2 separate regions of the Homo sapiens genome follow, and region 2 is linked to region 1. The links are contacts of gene promoters, found by promoter capture Hi-C in human tissues and cell types (Jung and others, 2019). All regions are on one chromosome and are shown on one strand. Each heading gives the region's core, a stretch centred on a gene start or on the middle of the fragment in contact. The rest is flanking DNA. Distances are from core to core; before and after follow the strand shown. Region 1 holds the start of OR4C46 (olfactory receptor family 4 subfamily C member 46). Region 2 has its middle 40 kb from the start of OR4A5.

The links. The method cuts DNA at HindIII sites, captures the fragments that hold promoters and counts their contacts. A contact is called where the count stands out against the background at its distance.
Region 2: a fragment that was not itself captured here is called in contact with the fragment with the promoter of OR4C46 in region 1 in 1 of the 25 tissues and cell types used here (thymus).

Annotation. Positions count from the first base shown.
Region 1 is chr11:54,601,398-54,605,405 of GRCh38, reverse strand. It overlaps OR4C46 (olfactory receptor family 4 subfamily C member 46), which reads left to right and starts at 1,408. Exons shown (of 1, transcript NM_001004703.1): 1 at 1,408-2,337. The coding sequence starts at 1,408. The coding sequence ends at 2,337. The HindIII fragment of the contact is 14,998 bases long and covers 1-4,008 here.
Region 2 is chr11:54,664,794-54,669,205 of GRCh38, reverse strand. It overlaps the pseudogene OR4A2P. Among named protein-coding and RNA genes, the nearest start is that of OR4A5, 40 kb to the left of the region's middle. The HindIII fragment of the contact is 3,797 bases long and covers 37-3,833 here.

The sequences.
Region 1 (4,008 bases), core at 159-2,658:
TAACTAGTATAATGTGACTAATCTTGACTCTGTCCTTTATTAAACTGCTTGATCTTGGATGGGATCTTCAACTTCCCTATGCTTCTACTTCCTAATATGTAAAATAAGTATAAAAATGATAGTACTATTTTCTGGGTTTATTTTGTGATTGCCTGCAAAAAAACATTTAGAAGACACTAGTGCTCAGTATGTTTTAGTTAATATTATCAATATTATGAGTGTTATAATGTTAATATAAATAATATTACATTATTGTATAATATAAATATCATTGTGTTAACATAACTATTAACATTAATCACTAATATTGCTGCCTTATCTGAAAATTTGATGAAATAATACTGGTCACCTAGGATGTTATAAGTGTTCACTGGAATCATGTGTGCAAAGCACTTACTACTATGGCTTTTGCAAGACAATTAATTATTAAAGGGCATATAATATTAGTTATTATAAAGTTAATTAGATTTAGACAATAAGCATTATGAATTATTTTAGTAGCTCTTATATCCTTTTTTTATACTTCTTTCTGTCTCTCTCTGTCACTCTCTGTCACCCAGGCTGGAGTGCAGTGGTGTGATCTTGGCCTCACTGTAATTTCTGCCTCCTGAGTTCAAGTAATTCCCCTGCCTGAGCCTCCCAAATAGCTGGGAATACAGGCAAGCACCATCACGCCTGGTTAACTTTTTGTATTTTAGTAGAGATGGGGTTTCACCATGTTGGCCAGGATGGTCTCGATTTCCTGACCTCGTAATCCACCCGCCTAGGCCTCCTAAAGTGCTGGGATTACAGGTGTGAGCCACCGGCCCAGCCACCCAGTTACTTCTTATGTCAAGTACTCTAAATATTCTGCCCACTGGGGTTCCTTTCTCTGGCTAACACCTGCTTTGCAGAACCTCAGCCCACTTCATCCAAGACATACAAAGACTTGTACTAGTGGGATACTCCAAGATTCCTACTCCTCAAATTCCTCTTCATCTTCCCACTCATATTGACAGTAACCTACCAATGTTCCCCATTTCCTAAAGAATAAATGGCAAATTCCTTAGCTTTACACCATGGCCTTTAAATTCATTGTCAATCTCCCTTTTCAGGTTTAGCTGCTACCGTGTATCCAATCTACTACTTCAAATTGAGCTCTTAGGCCTCCCAGATGATTGAGTATACACACATGACATCCTGACTTTGTTCACAAGAGTTTCTAATGTCGATACTCTTCACAGAGTCTTCACCAAGTAATCTTCAAGAACTGAGAAACTTTATTAACATCTCAAGAAAAACCTTATAGGAATTTACAGTTTAATAAAATTCAAGCATTTATTATTAAAATGGAGATATGTAATAAATTCAAAGTTGTATTAATAAAAAATTTTTACAGGTAATGCAATTAATCATCATGAGAAATACATGGAGAATAGGAATAACATGACAGAGTTTGTTTTGCTGGGGCTTACAGAGAATCCAAAGATGCAGAAAATCATATTTGTTGTGTTTTTTGTCATCTATATCATCACTGTGGTGGGATATGTGCTCATTGTGGTCACCATCACTGCCAGCCCATCACTGGGGTCCCCCATGTACCTTTCCCTGGCCTATCTCTCCTTTATTGATGCCTGCTATTCCTCTGTCAATACCCCTAACCTGATCACACATTCACTCTATGGAAAGAAGGCCATCCTATTCAATGGATGCATGACTCAAGTCTTTGGAGAACATTTCTTCGGAGGTGCAGAGGGCATCCTACTTACTGTGATGGCCTATGACCACTATGTGGCCATCTGCAAGCCCTTGCACTATATGACTATCATGAACCAGTGTGTGTGTGCCCTGCTAATGGGAGTGGTGTGGATGGGAGGCTTTCTTCATGCAACCATACAGATCCTCTTCATCTTCCAATTACCTTTCTGTGGTCCTAATGTCATAGATCACTTTATGTGTGATCTGAACCCTTTGCTCAACCTCGCCTGCACTGACACCCATATGCTGGAACTCTTCATTGCTGCCAACAGTGGATTCATCTGCTTGTTAAACTTTGCCCTCCTGCTGGTCTCCTATGTGGTCATCTTGTGCTCCCTAAGGACTCATAGCTTGGAGGCAAGGCACAAAGCCCTCTCCACCTGTGTCTCCCACATCACGGTTGTCATCTTATTCTTTGTGCCCTGCATATTTGTGTACATGAGACCTGCAGCTACTTTACCTATTGATAAAGCAGTTGCTATATTCTACACTATGATAACTCCTATGTTAAACCCCTTAATCTATACCTTGAAGAATGCCCAGATGAAAAATGCCATCAGGAAATTGTGTAGTAGAAAGGACATTTCAGGTGACAAATAAATGTAACTAGAGCTCAACATTGATTCAATTTAGTCATGTCCTTTTAGGGACATGGATGAAGCTGGAAATCATCATTCTCAGCTAACTATCACAAGAACAAAAAACCAAACACCGCATGTTCTCACTCATAGTTTGGAATAGAACAATGAGAACACATGGACACAGGAAGGGGAACATCACACACTGGGGCCTGTTGTGGGGTGGGGGAGGGGGGAGGGATAGCATTAGGAGATATACCTAATGTTAAATGACAAGTTAATGGGTGCAGCACACCAACATGGCACATGTATACATATGTAACTAACCTGCGTGTTGTGCATATGTACCCTAAAACTTAAAGTATAATAAAAAAAAAAGAAAAAGTCAGAAGGACATTTTGGATAATTGCAGTGGGGCAAATTGATTGGATGAAGAAAACATTCACCATATGATTCATAGATTCTGCATTGAGGGGTATAGAAATGGTTCAAGGAAAGAGAGAAAACAACCGAGGACAACTCTGCATATTTGGGAAATTCTACCAAGTTGGGGCTTAGTTTTACTAGTTTCATCCTGTATATGGATTCATAGGCTTTCCTCTCACAAATAAAAGAAATAATAGCATATATTGGTATCTAGCGGTAATATCTGTAACACTTCAAAGAGGTAAGCACTACTATTATCTTCATTTTACAAGTTAGGAAGCTTACAGGAAGGAGAAGATATCAAAATAGATATGTTGATGAGCTAGTAACCAAACTATAACTGATTTTCCAGACCATACTCTTAACTGCTATGATATTCTGCCACAGAGTGATAATGAAAATGTCAGTTAATTATACTACTTACCATTTTGGGACCACAGACTATGCTAGGCACAATGCATATATTAGTTTGTTATCTAACTAAAAATATAAGAAATTTTATTAACAACTCTGCTTTTTTATTTATCATTATTGATGGTCATTTGTTTTCTGAAACATTATGGTATCTAACCACTTTAAGACTGTAATAACAATAGGCCATAACCTCTCATGGGTAGGTAATGAAGTTTATATCATGTTTCCAAATGTCAGTGTAGGCTTCTGAACGATTTTGTATTGCTCAAGTCACCCATATTATGCTGAAAACCCATCAGAAAGGGTGATGGCTTCATTGAAAGAGCATTTGAATTTCAGGCTGAAATTTCTATTAGTTAAATATACAATCATGGCCCATAAAGTACTTGCCTACTAGATAACAATAATTGCCACAAGGTAGCACAATGTCTGGTACGTGATAAACCTCGAATGATTTAATAGAATTATTAAGGAAGGTAAATGAATTCAACAAAATTTAGAGCTAAAAAAAAAATAGTACTGATGATAGGAATTGTTTTCTTATCTGATTCAGGCACTAAGGAGAATTCTAGCTGGACCTCTTGGGGGAACACAGTTTGTTTTTACTCCTTACGCTGAAGAATACAGAAGAAATAGAAGCAAATTCCTAGCATATGAACAAATAGCTAATCTTGAAATTTTTCTGCTTTCAGCAACATTTTATCTTATGATTATGAGCTATTTATTTTCTATTCCTCTGTCAATCAGTTTACTTTTTGGTAACATTTTATTATTAAAAGCTGTTTTTGGGAGGGGGCCAAGATTGCCGATTAGAAGCAGCTGAGATCCGTGGCACTCACGGAGAGGAAAGAAA
Region 2 (4,412 bases), core at 686-3,185, 63 kb before region 1:
AGTAGCGTGATCATGGTTCACTGCAGTCTTGACCTCCTGGGCTCAAAAAATCGTCCAACCTCAGCCTCCTGAGCAGCTGGAACCACTGACATGCACCACCACAACTGTCTATCTTCCTTGAAAATGGTGTATTCCAAAATATTTACTATCTGGCTCTGCATTCCATATTTGAAGTTCATAGATTATGGATTACGCTAATTTTACATATGAAAAGCAGAGCCTGGCTGTTTTTTAGAAGGCCATGAGAAGGGGGTATTGAAAATAGCAGAGATATTATCAGATATTCTAAACATCTGGGAAGATCAATGGATCATTTTTACATAAATATAGCACCAAATCAAGCTGCTTCACCTGAGGACTTAATATGATTTCTCAATTGGAGAAAAAAGTAAGATTTAGTTATTTTTCTGCATGTCTCCCTTTTTCATTCAGATTCTTTTAGTATACTGTCTCCTTATGTATAATACTGAAGGAAGCACTATTCCTCTTCAACCTTAATATGCTAGCAATATGAACAAAATTATATATAAATAGTATCTTACAAATACAAAATAAAATATATACTTCAAATATTAATGTGGTCTGTATTTGTGTGGGGAGGAGTAAATGAAATTTTTATGTCTTATTTCTTAATTCATTCTTCTGAAATCTGTAATGAGCACTATTAATTCCAAAAAGGGATTAACTTTATTTAAAAGAAAAACATGAGAAAAACTTTCATAAACTTAAATAAATTTATAGTATTAATAACATAAATTTATCATCTCGAGAGCCATTCTACAAACAAAAAGTGAACATATATTTTTCCAATAAATTATTAAAATTTTCTAAATATATTTTGATTATTGCAAGTATTCATGTAATAAATGATTTTCACTGCATACTAGTTATTAAACCTGAGGAAAATTTCACTGCCATTAAATAATCACAAATGGCTTTCCTGGAGGGAGCAACTCTTCACTGAAAATAGATGATACATTTGTCTGCCACCTCATTTTCTTTTTCTAGTCCAGAGCTTCTTCATAGCATTTTTCATCTCTGCATTTCTTAAAGTATAGATTAGAGGGTTCAACATAGGTGTGATAACAGTGTAAAACACAGTCAAGGATTTATCAATGGGTAAGGTCAAAGGAGGTCTCACATACATGAAAATACAAGGGACAAAGAAGAGGATCACCACAGTGATATGGGAGCCACAGGTGGATAAGGCTTTGTGCCTCCCTTCCTGACTAAGATTCTTCAGGGAGTGCAGAATGACCCCATAGGAGAAGAGTAAGAGCATAAAGATGACCACACAGATTGCCCCATCATTGGCAACCACAGTGAGGCCAGTAACATAGGTGTCAGTGCAGGCAAGTTTTAATAAAGGGTACATGTCACAGATGAAATGGTCAATGACATTGGGGCCACAGAAGGGAAGGTTGTAAACAAAAAGAAGTTGAACTACAGCATGCAAGAAACCTCCAGCCCAGGCCAACAGCAGCAGTAGAATGCACACCCGTTGGTTCATGATGGTCAAATAATGCAGGGGTTTGCAGATGGTCACGTAGCCATCATAGGCCATGACAACAAGGAGTAAAATCTCAGCACCCCCAAATAGGTGTCCTATAAAAATCTGGGTAATCAAGCTTGGAACGAAATGGTTTTCTTCTCATAGAGTAAGTCTATAATCATATTTGGGGTAACTGTAGTAGAATGAACAGCATCCATAAATGATAAGTAGCCAAGGAAGAAGTACATGGGGCATCCAAAGTTGGGCTGACCACCACAGTCACAACAATGAATATGTTGCCTACCATTGTCACAACGTAGATGAGCAAGAACACAAGAAATAATATTTTCTGTCCCTGGGGGCTCTGAGTGAGCCCCACAAGGACAAACTCAGTCACATTTTTCCTTTGCTCCATATGCCTTTCTGTATGTCCTTATTCCAGTTGAACACAGGACAAAATTACTTAAAAATATAATTGTTACTAGTAGCTTCATTAAATTTTAGGATAATTTGTTTATTCATTCAACAAATAGGTGTTATGAGTTATTATGTTCCAGAATTGCAAGACATTATAAAAATATAAGGCTGATTAAAGCATGGTCCCCAACCTCAGCAATCTTACAAATTAATTGAGAGAGAAATAAGTAATTTGGGATGTATATGGGAAAAGGACAGTTTATTAAATAAAAGAGTTTGCCAAAACTAGTTTTACATCTGGAAGATCATAAAATTATACATATAGCTAATACCATAAACAAAAATAAATACAAATGAATTAAAGATTTAATATAAAACTAAAGCTAGATTTTCTTTATATTTACTTTCCAGTTAATAAAGGAGATGACTTTCTACATTCTCTGGATGGGAGAATCTTAAAAATTGAAATCCAAAATAAACATATTTGACAATTTCAAAATTGTTTAAGAATTTGGGAAAATAATACCATTTAAAAATATTTATAATTTTGAGGGCACAGAGTTAATATTTAAAATAGAAAGAGTGCTCTAAGCAATTAATAAATAAGAGACAAACCAATAGCAAACTGGGCAAATGATAGAAACCAGCAATTTAAAAAGAAACAGTACATTAACGTGGCCAAATATAATAGTGTGCTGAAGTTCACCTATAAATAGAAAAATACAAAATATAAAACAAATATCACCTTATATTCATGAAACTGACAAAAACGTTTTAAAAGTGATAGTAGCTATAGCTAGCAAAAATAAAAAAGGGTATTTTCTTGCACTGATAGGGAAAATATGGATTTTATAATATTTTTGGAACAAAAGTTAGCAATCTCTAATGAAAGTAACAATATCTTTCAACACAACTGCTCCCTTCAAAAGCTACCCCATAGAAATTAGAGCCCTAGAACATAAGGACAGATGCATGGCATGTTTTTGTGACATTATTTATAATGGCACTAAACAAACAAAAAATATGGAATACAGATATTTAAAACAATTAATTGCAGCCATTTCAGTATAATAATATGATTCAGCAAACAAAATAAAAATACTATACATGTATCCATTTATAAGTGTTTGCATATGACTATATGAGCATGGGAAAATAACGAAGGATATATGTTTTTTGTTGTAAGCAGGGTTTACATTTGCATTGGTGATGTGGGGGAGAGGAGAGAAGTTGTGTGTGAAAGAATAAAACTAACGAAGAGGAGAGGAAGGAAGGAAAGAAGGAAGGAAGATGGAGGAAGATGGAATAAAAGAGGGAGGGAAAGAAATAGGGGAGAAGGAAGGGAGGGAGGGAGGGAAGAGAGAGTTAGAGGAAAAGAAGGCTTCACACACACACACACACACAAAACTATATCATACGTAGTGACAATATTCACTAGCCCAGCTATCTCCTAAAATAATCCTACTAATGACAACTAATCGCTAAGTCTCTGTTGACATTACTTCAATCTAACCTGATAAATAATGTCCCATCTGTTTTTCAAATACACAGATTGTCTGTGTTGCTAACAATGGCCAACCTCTCTAGAGGTTGCACTAGATTCCGTGCTCTTTACCACTCTTAAGAACAGTGTTCCTTCAATTTTCTCCATTTCGAATGTCAACAATTTTCCTCCCTATATTGCATCCTTCTTCCAGCATATTTGTATGATCTATCCCCACGTTTAAAAATATATTTATACCCCTGGACAGCATATCTCTTTCAAGCAACCACCCCATCTTGATTCTCTGTTATTCTTTCTAAATAACACTTTCACTTTACTAAATCAAGTGGTCAATTTCAATACTCTTCTTACTTGACCTATCATTCCTATGAATTGAAGTAACACCTTGCTTACTTTAGTCTTACCTTGGGTTCTTGAAAGTCACTCATTCCACTTCTACAGATGCTATATCATCTAATTTTTGGCATATTAATCAATGCATAGAGAACACACTGCTTGATCCTATAAAGAGATTTACAAATACCTGCCCATTAAAATATCCCCCAAATGGTTACATTTGAAATTAGTTTCTAAGAACACTGATGTAGAGAAAGTAAATTTTTTCTGTTATTTAATGTTGAAATATCCAAAAAAGTATTACAGAATTGAGTCAATTCACATAAAGTTTAGCAATCATGAAGATCCACTAATGTGGTTTATTATCAGAATCACTTAGAGAACTATTAAAAGACAGAATTCCCACATCATCAGTGTTACTGCATAATGTAAAGCCTAGTGCAGAATCTCACACATAAATACCTTCCTGGGTATCTGCATAAGAAGACAGTAATTCATTCCGGGTTCTGATGATGGTACCTTCCCTCTTGTCCTAAAAAAATAACAGCTGTGTACACTGACACCATCTGTGTGAACACAGAGAGTAAAACAACACATGAATCATCACTGGACCTTGAAATGCTTCCATGTGATCAACGTTTTCCATGCTTGTTGAAAGTTTGA